Linked DNA regions of Homo sapiens: region 2 is linked to region 1. The links are contacts of gene promoters, found by promoter capture Hi-C in blood cells and fetal thymus (Javierre and others, 2016). All regions are on one chromosome and are shown on one strand. The core of a region is centred on a gene start or on the middle of the fragment in contact, and the rest is flanking DNA. Distances in the headings are between cores, read along the strand shown.

Region 1 (6,638 bases), core at 1,380-3,879:
CCCTCTGACCTTGGCCCAGACCTTCAGAGGCTCAGTCTGTTGAGTCTGTTGTGACTGTCTTATGAATCAATCTGTTGTGCCAACCCTTTCTGAGATTCAGAGAGGTCCAGCTAGAAAAAGTGGCAGTTTTAACCACCAACGTAGAAGCTTTTTTTTCCCCACAAGACCATTGTACTGCAATACTTGAGTATTTGTGTAGCAAACAGCCTCTTAGGTTGGAGAGTATTGATTTCAAATAGGAAGTTGGTAGACTAGGTGTGAGGATGAAATAATGACCTTGATTTTTGGGTGTGTATTGCAGAAGCCTCGTCGCTTTCAAGTCACATCATATATGCGATCTGGCCTAACCATGGAGATATTGGTTATCAGTTTGCAGATGAATACACAGTTCTATCCAACAGAAACTGTATCTTTCTGTTTGTCAGAAGTTCTCCGTTAGTTCCTGTATTAGTCAAGGTTTTCCAGAGAAACAGAATCAATATATATTGGGGCAGGGGGGCGGTGGTTATTATAAGGAATTGGCTCACGTGATTATGGAGGCGGTTAAATCCCAAGATCTGCAGGATAAGTCAGCAAGATGGAGTCCCATGAGAGCTGATGGTTTAGTTCCAGTCTGATGGCAGCAGGCTTGACGCCAAGGAAGAGATGATGTTTAATTCAAGTCCGAAGGCAAGGAAAAAGCTGATGGTCCTGTCCAAAGGCTATTAGGCAGGAAGAATTCTCTTAGGGCAGAGTTAGCTCTTTTGTTCTATTCAGGCCTTCAACTGATTCAGCAAGGCCCGCCCACATTTGGGAGGACAGTCTGCATTACTCAGTCTACTGATTTGAATGTTAATGTCATTGAGAAACACCCTCACAGGAACACTCAGAATAATGTTTGACCAAATAGCTGGGCATCTTGTGACCCAGTTAAGTGGATACATAAGATTAACTATCACAGTGACTCAGTGGAATTTTTTGTTTGCTTTTGTACAGTTTTAAAATAAAAGTTTGGTATTTGTGTTTTGGTATGCTGTTATTTTCATTGTGAATGAGGAGTTGTGGGGAAGGTAAGAGATTGGTTTCCAAAGAGCTTTGAGTCCCCCAAGGCAAGGTTTAGCCACCGTTCATACTAAAGCCATAGTTTTATTCCTGAGTCTGCTCTCTAGTATTTTATTTTATCAATTTATAAACAAATAGTGTTCATAAGGCACACATATTTCACTCAACCATATTCAGTTCCAAACATGCATTCCTGAATATCCCAATCTTAAAACTAACTCACATTGTCAGCTTGTGGAGGCAGAATACATGCATACATATACACATACATACATGAATATACATATAATATACACACACATATGCATACATACACATATACACATGTATACATGTATGTGTATATACATATCTGTACTACATAGGTGTATATATATGTATATGTATTTAGCATGTATGCACGTGTATATGTATACACATATATACATATGTATGTATAATACATATTCACACATGTATGCATGTATATACACATGTATACATTAGTATATGTATATACACATGTATGTGTATTATACATGTATATATGTACATACATATCAGTCTACTGATTTGAATATTAATGTCATCAAGAAATAACCTCAATATATGTATGTATTATAACCTTACAACTATATAAAACATACATACATATATATGTATATATGTATACACATACACATGCATGAGAATATATGTATGTATATATAATATCCTCACAGTAATTCTGCCAGGGATTTTATGGGGGAGGGAGTTGGTACTCCAAATGGCTAGGTGGTAGAGCCAGAGTTTTATACTTGGTTTATCTAGCTCTGAAGGCAATGCTCCTTGTTCTTTGCACTGAAACATTGTGCAGATACGAGAAGCCTGTAGTTTACGTATTTCATTAGCCTTTTATTATTTTAAAAAATAAAACCTGAAAAAAAAGACCTAGTCCTGGATACTTTGGTGATCTTGTTGTGTCTGGATTGACGAACACGTGTCAGGCTTAATTAGGGATGCACGCGGAACCCGGGAAAATCCCTGCTCAGGGGGGCTGGAAGACCTGGAGGTTGATCCTTGAACAGGGTACTTTTAGCTTCTCCGATAAGGAGATTGGGTTATTTTATCTTTAAACTCCCTTCCAGCTCTACCCTCCTTTGATTTTAAGTTATAAACCTTGAGTGAGGTGCCAGACTCTAGGCTTCGTTGGACGTCTACAGGACGGTCAAGGATTACCAACTCAAAGTAAAGAAGGAAATTTGAGTACTTGCCCCCTTGGAGGTTGTGTAGGTTGGCTATACAGATTCTACAACTTCCCAGACGAGTGGCCCTGAGACTTGGGGCTGAACGCGCGAGCACGGAAAGAAATCCCACCGTAGGACGGAACCCAGTCTCTTCAGCTCCATCCTAAACTTCGCAAGTTTTCTCTGAGTCTACGCGCTTCCTTAGGACTACAACTCCCAGCATGCCACGCCAGCGGTCAAAGCTTATTGGTGGTCCTGCCAGGTCGCTTGCGTTGTGGCAGTCATGGTAGCCAATGGAAATAAAGAATTATCCCAAGAAACCAATCCTGGAGTAGTAGGGCGGATCCTTCCTGGGTTCCGGCTCCGGCTCCAGCTCCTTCCCTCGCCTACAGAGGCGGCGCTGTCCCTGATCGAGCGGCGGGAGCGAGGTGGGTCCGGGTTGGGCCCGAGGTCGCGGGGGGAGGCGGACACGACTTCGCGGGAAACTCTGTACACGGCCACTTCCCTCTCACCGAGGATCTGGATGCTGCTGCTTTGCTCCCTGGACCGAGTGGGAAGCCAAGGGGCCTTGTGGTCCCTCCGCCGCGACCCTCGCCCTGGCCCCCGGCCCACGCAGCCAGGTGGCTGTCCCCAACCCATTCCCCGGCCCTTCTGTTGGGTTTGAGTATACAGCCTTCCTGCCGCTGACCATACGTTTAGGATCAGCCCCTCCTCCTCTCCCACCTCTCTGGCCCCAAGCCCGCCGGCAATCTCTGAAACCAGCTCTTGTACCCTTGGACCTCCGCCATTGGCTTCTCCCCGCCCCGCAACACACAACTCAGCTCTTGGGCCCTGGCCTGTGACACTTCTGGCAGCCTTTGCTTCCTCTTCCCTGACCGTCTCCTGCGACCCTCTGACTTCCTTGGTCCTCCTGTATCTCTGACCCGTTATCTAGCTTCCCTGTACAATTACCCTGTTAGCACCTTGCTCTTGGTCTTTCATAGCTCCTCTCTCCTCTTCCTCCCTGCAGCCCTTGACTTGGCCCCAAAGACCTGTAACTTCGGACCTCCATACCGCACTATGGCTTGGCCCCTTGCCTTTAACCTAGGCGCTTCACCTTCATCATCTGTGATCACTAGCCCCATCTTCTTGGCTCTTAACTTCTTAGACCTGGCCCCTCCTCCACTTCTCAGCCCCTTCCACCGTTGCTTCTCTCTGTGCAGCTGAGCCACCAGGAAGACAAAGCCCAATAGACCCCTTTTCCCCCCAGATCTCTGCAGTGTGATATGAAAGTGCCTCTGTACTTCAGCTGCACTGTCTTCTCAGTAGGTAGTTGCCTCTTTATCTCTGCAAGTCCCAGTCTTACCCATCCTGCAAACCTTAGGTCAAATACCTACTCCTCCTTGAAACTTCTCAGCCCTGATTTCATCAGGGAGATACATCTGTATCATGTGAACTTCAGTGGTACTGTTTTTATTTCCTTCCTTCCCGTCTTCTCTCCTTTTTTCCTTCAGTAATAGTATAATGGTTAAAAGCACTGACTTTGAAGTGATGGGCATAGGCCCCAGTTCTGCCACTTACTTGCTGTGTGCCCTTGGGCAAGATACTTAATTTCTCTGAGCCTCAGCTTTCTCATCTCTAAAATAAGGATGATGTGAAGTGAAATTAGATGATTCATATATGGTCCTTAGTCCACAGCTTAGCACTTGATTCGAGCTTTAAAAAAATGTTAATAATGTGCCAGGTGCTGTGTTAGACACTGAGGAGTGGGTACAAAGGTGACTAAGGCACAGTTCCTGCCCCTGTCCCCTGAACTTAACCTTCTGCATTGTATGACAATTTCTGGAGTTCACGGTCTGTTTCAGTACACTGTATCACAAACTGAGTGGTAATCATAATCCTAAATCCTTTTGCTCTTACATTGACCTAGCATCCAGCCCCGGGTAGAGCTGGAACTTGGTAAATTATAGGTTCTCAGAATAGCAGTTTCGGAAGTGAGTGGAGGCTGAATAGCTCATTGCGTAGAGATACTGTAGCTGTAGGTCAGATGGGAGCAGGGCAGGGGGTGGGGGATGGGATGGTGGCGTGAATTAAGATCACATCCTGTCACTTATACATTCAAAAGACATTTGAGCACCCAGCTTTATGCTGCAGAAGGAGATTACTAATATGACCCAGTCCCTTTCCTCAAGTTGCTTATAAACTACTAATAGAAACAGACATGTTCTACTAGTAGTTGCAAACCACTATAAGCCAAGCACAAGATTCTGTGACTGCATAAAGGAGAAAGTAGGCAGGAATCAGGAGATTGCTGAGGAAAAGTGGGTGAGACAGTTCATGGTTACTTGTGTCCCATGAAGACAGAGCTGGTGTTTTATTCAACTCATTCAACAAATACTTATGAAGGATCTACTGTATATGGCTGCCACTACTCTAGGAGTTTTGGTTACATTGGTAAATTAAAAAAAAAACAAAAAAACAACAAAGACACCAGCTCTCATGGAACTTATGTTTTAGGGAAGCAGACAATAAATAATAGACATAAAGAGAATGTCAGAAGGTAAGATGTGCTATGGGGCAGGAGGACTGGGAGTGTGGGAGTGATTTTAATTTTTTAAAGGATGGTCAGGAAACAGTGTCTAAGTATCAAGGAATAGTTTCTCATGTTTACTTGCATTTTTGGAAGTAAAGCAAACCAATTATTTTTCATATTCTTATCTAAATTCTTCAAGGAACACTAACAGGGATTGGCAAACCACAGCTCACCTCCTGTTGCTTTAAATAAAGTTTTATTAGAGCACAGCCACACATTCCTTTATGTCTTGTCTATGGCTGCTTTCATGATTCATGATACAGTGGCAGAATTGAATAGTTACAGCAGATATCCCATGGCCATAAATATTTACTAAATATTATCTGGCCCTTTACAGAAAAAGCTTGTCAACCTCTGGTTCTTAAAGAGTTGAGGTTCTGTCTGTATTTCACATTTTAGAAGGTTATATACAGTTTTATGCTATTTTTAAGTTAAAAGTTTTTTCTTAATGAGATCATTTAAAAGATCTTTTTCTTGTATTCTTCACAGGGCCTGGACGTAGTGTCTTCAACAGTTGTAACAGCAGCTGCCATTTGCTGAATGACAGCATGTGTCACACACTCTGCTGAGTATTACAGGCATTTTTTTCTAATACAAAGTCTTGTAGTGTGGGTAGGTATCACAATTTTAGTGAAGAGGGAGTTTAGGCTCAGAGTGGTTGAATAATTTGCAGAGAGCGATAAAGATAGTATGTGTCACAGTTGTAATCCAACCCTAAATGTAGTCAGTACCCCTTTCTTTATTCTGTGTTTCTTTTTTCCAGAAATACTTGCAGACTTGAAGGAATTATCAGTCTTTCATTTTCTATCATCAGTGTCCTATGATAGTTTGTGCTTCCCTCCCTCATCCCTTTGTTCATGTCACTCTGTTCACCAACCCACTCTGCTGAAATGTCGTTATTTCTTCAAGGCCCGGAGGAAATGCTACCACTCTCATCAGAGGTACTTTTCCCCCCAACTCTTTCCCTGTCCTTGGCTGTAGGAACCCAAAGGAGTCTGTGCAGCTTAGCACACATTAGTGATGTTTGCACAAATCAGGACCTGTACTGGGCACTCTTATGTGTTTAGTTTTGGGGTGGGGTGTGGGGAGTGTGGTTTGTGTGTCTGTGTCTGTGTTTATCTTTGTGTGTACTTGGTATGTGAGTGTGTGTCTGTGTGTGGTGTATGGGTATATGTGTATAGACATGTATGTAGCTATATATGTGTGTGGCTGTGGTATGTGGCTATATGTGGTATGAGTGTGTATGTAGTATGTATGTGTGTGGTGTGATAATGTATGGCTGTGTGTGGTGTGTAGGTGTATAGCTGTTGTGTGTGGTATGAGAATGTGACCGAGTATGTCAGGTATGTGAGTATGACCGTGTTACGTGAGAATATGGCTTTGTGTATGGTGTGACTGTGTCTGTGTGATTCTGCTTGCTTGTGTGCATGCATGCGTGTGTGGGCGGGGGGTGTGGGTGGGGCTTTGTATGGTGTTTGAGAATGTAGTGGAGGGCACTGACTGATCAGAAGAAACACAGCCCAGGCCCCACAGTAGGTCCTGGAGGTCCCAGGTATTAACCCAGATGTTTACTTGCTAGATTCTGGTGTGGGCTGGAGAGGGGTAGAGTGGCAGAAATCTCAAGAAAAGCCAAAGCTGGGCCTTGTCACCTAGGAAAGCCTCAAGATTTAGAGGTTTTGTTTTGTTCATTTTGAAAGCAGGCATATAGGTAGATACTTGTAAGGAAGGTTTTTCAAAAAGGATTAAACATAAAAAGAGTTACAGTTAACTTACAGTTAGGCAGAAAAATTGAACTTATCCCAAAATGAAAGCTCTTTTAC
Region 2 (6,638 bases), core at 2,817-5,316, 320 kb after region 1:
AATTAATGTGGCCTGCCTACTCAATGTACCACCTACGCAGAGCTTCCGCTTATGTATGAACAACCAAGGCTTGCCAGATATTAAGGAAAGAAACCCCAGCAAAACAATCCTAATCAAAGGAATATGAGAGGATTATCAGATTATCGGATTATATTAGGATAATGTTCTAAGTGTTTTACATTGATTAACCGAATACTGACAGGAACCCAATGAGGTAGATACATCTACATTATGCTAGAGATGACAAGGCAAATAAAAATTAAATTCCCTACGGTCAAACAGCAAGTAAGCAACACAGCCAGGCCCCAGAATCCACGCTTCTTAGCTTCTACAATACTCTACTGCTCAAACACGGGAAAGAGGAGATCAAAATGCATGGGCTGCAGAAACAGAATGAAGGGAACAGAGGGAAACTTTATCAAAAAAATTAAAACTATAATCATATTCTGAGAGATATAAGATACTGCATCTAGAGGATAAGAGTAAAATGATATGAAAAATGACCAAATAGAGAATAAGAAACTCTTGGGGGATAAATGAAATGAAAGCTAAACTTCATATTCAATAAAATGATTTTAGGCCGGGCATGGTGGCTCACGCCTGTAATCCCAGCACTTTGGGAGGAAGAGGCAGGTGGATCACTTGATGTCAGGAGTTTGAGACCAGCCTGGCCAACGTGGTGAAACCCTGTCTCTACTAAAAATACAAAAATTAGCTGGGTGTGGTGGCGCACGCCTGTAATCCCAGCTACTCAGGAGGCTTAGGCAGAATCACTTGAACCTGGGAAGTGGAGGTTGCAGTGAGCCAAGATTGTATCACTGCACTCCAGCCTGGGCGATGGAGTGAGACTGTGTCTCAAAAAAAAAAAAAAAAAAAAAAAAAGATTTTAAAAAACAAAAATATATCTCCCCCCAAAAGTAGAACTGAAATAAAACTTAAAAACAGTGCCTGCGAAATTCTAAAATTCTAAGGAGGAAATTCCTATCAGCCCAAATTAAAGGCAATTTCAGAAATGCAAGGAGATAAAAAGTTTACCTCTCATCTTCCCTTTCTTAGTAAGATACCAAAAAATGGTACACAGCAAAAGAAGGCATATGCTAAGATGGGAAAACATGGGATTCTGGAAATAATGGTGCCAACTTAAACGGTCTAGAAAAAAGGTGACAGTTGTGTGGCATAACTAGGTTGTAGGAGAAAAATTATAAAGTGGGTAAAATGACAAAGCATCTGGAAAGAACTAAGAATATAGAAGGAAAATTAGGCAAGCAGAAGAATGTAAGGTGAAGGTTAACTGGAGGAAAAACCAAAAGCTGTACCACAAAGAAAATCACGGTGGCTCACACCTGTAAAATATGGGCATTGAGCTTTACAGGGATTGATCGTAATATAACTATTTAGAAGGATGAGACAAAGGAAATGAGAAGGTGTCAGTTAAATCATTATTTATCATAAAATGAAGGCAATTTGAACTCAATGTCTAAATTATCAATAGATAGCAATGGAAAGTAACTTCTCAATCTTTTAGTCTAGACTATTTAACCAAAGGTATGTGTTCCTTTAATAATTTTTCTTTAGTTTATTGAAAGAAATGTTTACAACATGACACCAACAGAAGGGATCAAAGTGTGTCGTGAAATTGCGAGTCTTCATTCCTTTTTCTTGGTTCTTTGTATTCAAAGATGCTATTTAGTGTGTTCTGTTCTTCATCTTCTCTCTTGTTCGTTTTCCAGGTCTCTTCTACAGAAAAAGACATACCACATCTGGTCACATAGCAGCTTGCCTTCTGCCCCAGGGTGAGGACGAACAGAACTGAAGGGAGAGGGCAGGGTTGGGAGTGGGAGGGGAGGCTGAGCCTGCTCCTCACCCGGGCACCTGGGCTCACTTACATTTGACCCTTTCTTGCCAGGCCTCTTGAGGCCTCTGCCATGAGCTGTCTTGGCCCGGAAGCTAGATACATCATCATAGCTCTCCCGAGTGTTCCACTTTGAGCCTTTCTTCTTTCCACCAAAACCAAACTTCTGGTTTTTATACCGTCGTTTAGCACTGGGCCTGGAAAAGAATGGTCCTAGACATCACTACAGCACTGTAAAGCCTGATGAACCTGATGGCCCAGCAATGCTCTCAGTTTCCTTTCTATAAGCAAAGCCCCTTAGGCACGTCTGTAACCCAGAATCTCATCCTTGGCCCCACAATCCTATGCTACAGCCTCTCTAGACAAACTCATCTAGCTCACCTATTTACAGTTTTGACCACCAGGGCAGGAAAATAAAGCAAGAAGCAGGGAAGGCTCTACATATATTACATGGCTTCCTGCTGTCTTTAGAAAGCTTTCTATTTTAACCAAATCTTATTAAATCACCCTCAGTTGTGTCTATTCCTCTCAAGGGTAAATACATGCAGTTAACATCCAAATGTAATATGTTACATTTGTAACATTCAAATGTAATGTAATGAATACGTTCAAATGTAAACATTCAAATGTAATTATAGGCATTCAAATAACATTCAAATGGAATAACATTCAAATGTAAAACTGGTCATCCAATAGGAATCTTGAATTCAGCATCTCCAAATTCACATCATCTCCTGGACTGGCTCTGCTTCCTGTACATATGCCCTCACTTGAGGCTGGCGCTGCTCCCACCAACCCAGACACACAGGCTAAACATGTGGGAGTCAGCCTTGGTTCTTCTCTCACTCTTTATACCCAATTCAATTACTGAGTCCTGCTCATTTCACCTCTTAAATGTTTCTTCAATCCTTATCTCGACTTTTGCAATAGTACCCTTGTCAATTTCCCAGCTTCCCTCAAGTCTGTCACTTATACAAAATCCACTGTGATCTTTTTAAAAACATGAATATAACCTGCTCATTACTGTTAGTACAACCTACAACCTAGTCTCTCCACTGCCTTCTGACAAAGCCCAAGCTCCTCAACAAGGCAAACCCACAGCCCAGGTCCCCCCAAACACATTGCACCCCTCCTTGCTTTGCACTGTATTCCCAGTGACACCAAGGGCTTACTGTTCCTCACAAAACCCTGAGGTTTCACATCTCGATGGCTTTGCTCGTTCAAGCTCTTACTTCTTCCCAAACCCAGCTTCTCTTCTATTCTCGTGGTTAATTCCTACTCATGCTTCAAGCAATGCTCAAGTCGAACGCTCCTCCAGAAATCCACCCCAGACCCTGTCAGGTATTTATAAAAGCTGACTCAGTACTAATCCCCAAATGCCTCTATCATAGCACTTACTATCTTACATGGAAATTATCATTTCCCCTAGGCCTGGTATCCAGGTATGCAAAAAAGCAGACTAGAAAAAACAATGAGAGCCCACATTCTCTCTTTCAGTCTTCATACTATGAGGCAGACACTATTTCCTCAACTTAGCAGATGAGGCAATTAGCATTTAGAAAGGCATGGTAACTCGTTCAAAACTGCCCTCCTACTGAGTGGTAGAGTCGGGATCTGAACCCTAGGTCTGAACTCTCAACCATCGCACTGTGTGATGGGGAATCAACTTTACTCAGCATTCACTTAAAGGGTGCCACATACTTAAAAGTACCTTCTTAGGATGGGTGCAGTGGTTCACACCTATAATCCCAGCACTTTGGGAGGCTGAGGTGAGTGAATCACTTGAGGCCAGGAGTTCACAACCAGCCTGGCCAACATGGTGAAACCCTGTCTCTACTACAAATACAAAAATTAGCTGGGTGTGATGGCAGGCACCTGTAGTTCCAGCTACTCAGGAGGCTGAGGCACAGAATTACTTGAGCCCAGGTGGCAGAGGTTGCAGTGAGCCAAGACTGTACCAGTGCACTGTAGCCTGAGTGACAGAATGAGACTGTCCAAAAAAAAAAGAAGTTTAAAAAGTGCCTTCTTTTACTCTTCAAAGACTGACATGGCTAAAAGGGCCCATCACACAGTCATAGGGGTCCTGGCCCCAGGCAGCAGCTGCACTCTCTGGACTCTATGGCTGCGCCGGTGGAGGTGCTATGTCTGCCATACTCGTGACCTGTGGCCCCATCGCACCTCACAGAACCAAAGAAACCATGCCAAAACCCTTCTCACCCCTTCCTCATCTGCTGGCCTTTGGCTCCTGCCTTCTTGCGCTGTGCCAGAGGTTTCTGATCTCCCTCAAGGAAATCCAGTTTATCAGAGAAGCCTGTAAGTGAAGAAGTAGTTTTGATCAGCACCATTGTATTTTAAGAATAAAAGTTTAAACCACCATATGAGGCTGTTATTTGCTACACTGATTTTAAGAGTCACATCCTGCTCTCCAACACCATTCCCAAAACTTTGATCCGACAGGTCCACATCAACCAAGAAGGCTCCAAAGCACTAAGTGTTCAAATCAACTCTAAAGTACCTGCTACCCTCGTTCCCCTATTAGAGATGTACCAACCTTTCTGATATTTCTTAATAGCATTCATCATATGGGCTTTCTCCTGCTGCCTCTTCTGAAGAACCTCCGTTTGCACCTGTGATATGAACACAAGGACCGTTACAGCCATTCCATACCATTACTCCAGTGTCTACATTGTCTTAATAGCAACACCATGATTAATACCACTACCCTCTGACATTTACTACGTGCCAAAAACTGTGTTAGGGACTCTAAGTATATTCTCAGATCTAGGTATATTCTTCATAGATGAAGATATATCTGTCTCATAACAATCCAGTGAAGTTGAAATTTGTGTTATCCCCTAAACTGAAGCACAGGGAAGTTAACTTGCCCAAGTCGCACAGTGAAAAAATGCACAGCCAAGATGACCCAGGCTGTTTGACTCCAAAGCCAGCACTCACCCTATTATACAATCCTGCCTACAAAACTGAAGTAAATCATGTTTAAGACTACATCGATTTTTCGCATCACATTTGGACAGATTAATTATCTAACTCACTGTTACTAGGCATGAAAGTACCAAAAGGAAGAGAAAAAAACAATGTCCCCAGGTAAAGAAAAGAAAAAAGTTTGAAGGATAAAAGGAGACACTTTATAATACTCTAACAGAGGGTTTCTCAATCTTGATACTGCTACAGTGTGGAGAGAATAATTCTTTGCTGGGGGGTAGGGGCCTGTCCTACACTGTAGGATATTTAGCGGCACCCCTGCCCTCTACCTACTAGATGCCAGTAGTACCCTCCCTCCCAAATTTGACAACTAAAAATATCTCCAGGCAGTCACAGAAAACTCTTGGGGAGCAAATTCACCCCCAGTTAACAAACTCTTCCCCAGTGTTTCCTTAAATTAGGAACAGTGAACTAATAGGCCCAAGTGAGTTTGTCTTTGCTTTTGGTAACTTTGGCTATGTTAAATTAATTACTGGTGTCTTTGAGAGAATCTCAGCCATCCACCTCCAGATCAAAGAAATAATAAATCCGCAGCAGGCCTTTTGTAGAGGACAGGATCCCAGCCTATTCCTACTTTGCTGAGAATGTATCAGTGAAATGACTCCAAACGTGGACAAGAGTTCTGCAGCCCAGATCACAAGTGCTTATGTCCAAATGTTGACGAAGTCTTAACACCCACACCAATCTTCCTCACATTCATTTCTTCCCACAATCCTAACTTTAAAATCTGTCATCTTCTTTCTTAGATGACCATGAAATAAAAAAGGAAAACCAAGAAAAGTTTTAGGGTATGCCTGATCTGGTGTTACATTAGAACTCAGACATTCATAGTTCAAACACGCAGGCAATCTTTCAGATTGGATGACAATCATTATGATAATTTCTTCAGGTACGTGATTATCACATAGATCAGTGAATCCCAAACCAGGATGCATTTCAGAATCACCTGGAAAGCTTTTGGGGAAGAGGGGAAAACAGGCACAGATTCCTGGGGATTCTGAAGTCTAGAATTCTGTTTTGAAAAATTTCCCCTGGTGATTTTGCTATAAGGTCAGGTTTGGAAACCACTCATCTGGACCCAGTGTACAGATGTGAAAACTAACGCCCAGAGAGGTGATTGGCTCACCTGCAGTCACCATACTACTCCTGGGGAACCACTCATGTCCAGGCAAGATTGTGCTCATGAATACCAGCACATACACTGAGAGACGGTAAATACATGATCAACACACAGTTCCGTTCAGTTCAGGGGACCAAGTCAGACCACGGCAATCTCATCTAACACACACTCCGCCTCTTCCTGTTCCCTGCACACTTTTCTTCTCACCTTCTTCCCGTATTTCCTAAGTGCTCGCAGTTGCTTAGCTTTTTCAGACCTCTCCATGGCAGCCTGTTTAGTCTGCAGCTTCTGTCGAATCTACAACACAAAATGCTGTCAGTTCATGTCATTTGAATCTGGAATGACCACTACTTAGGATTCGCTAGAGCAGGGAACAGATATTCCCTGTTCTTTAAACTGCGGAACTTATAAATCATCAGTTCCAACCCCTGAGGACAATGGGGCCCACAGGCTGAGCACTTTACCAAAAGTGCCAGAGTGAAGCCAGAGATTGAAAGTCACCTTCCCGCTCCCAGTGTGCTGTCTGTTTCATTATACAAACTGCCTATTTGTAGCCCAGGAAAGAAGACAAACTTCTCCCCATTTCTACTGTCAGTAGACTGAGGCTGGAAACCAGTATGCGGCCTCAGTGTCCTTTTCTAGTATACCACATACACAATAAAA

Evidence for each region. Contacts are between HindIII fragments. The CHiCAGO score rates a contact against its expected background, and 5 or more counts as called.
Region 2: a contact is called between a fragment that was not itself captured here and the fragment with the promoter of ZNF691 in region 1, in 1 of 17 cell types (total CD8 T cells). The highest score is 5.9, in total CD8 T cells.

The regions. Positions count from the first base shown.
Region 1 is chr1:42,843,984-42,850,621 of GRCh38, forward strand. It overlaps ZNF691 (zinc finger protein 691), which reads left to right and starts at 2,630. Exons shown (of 4, transcript NM_001242739.2): 1 at 2,630-2,674; 2 at 5,308-5,430; 3 at 5,582-5,759. The coding sequence starts at 5,676. It overlaps ZNF691-DT (ZNF691 divergent transcript), which reads right to left and starts at 2,431. Exons shown (of 5, transcript NR_186083.1): 1 at 2,274-2,431; 2 at 528-701. It overlaps ERMAP (erythroblast membrane associated protein (Scianna blood group)), which reads left to right. Exons shown (of 12, transcript NM_001017922.2): 12 at 1-1,008. RefSeq lists enhancers at 2,167-2,436, 2,597-2,666. The HindIII fragment of the contact is 2,673 bases long and covers 2,487-5,159 here.
Region 2 is chr1:43,162,757-43,169,394 of GRCh38, forward strand. EBNA1BP2 (EBNA1 binding protein 2) reads right to left here. Exons shown (of 9, transcript NM_006824.3): 5 at 6,183-6,272; 6 at 4,404-4,479; 7 at 4,070-4,163; 8 at 1,887-2,049; 9 at 1,428-1,737. The coding sequence ends at 1,687. Among named protein-coding and RNA genes, the nearest start is that of MIR6733, 5.6 kb to the right of the region's middle. The HindIII fragment of the contact is 3,482 bases long and covers 2,326-5,807 here.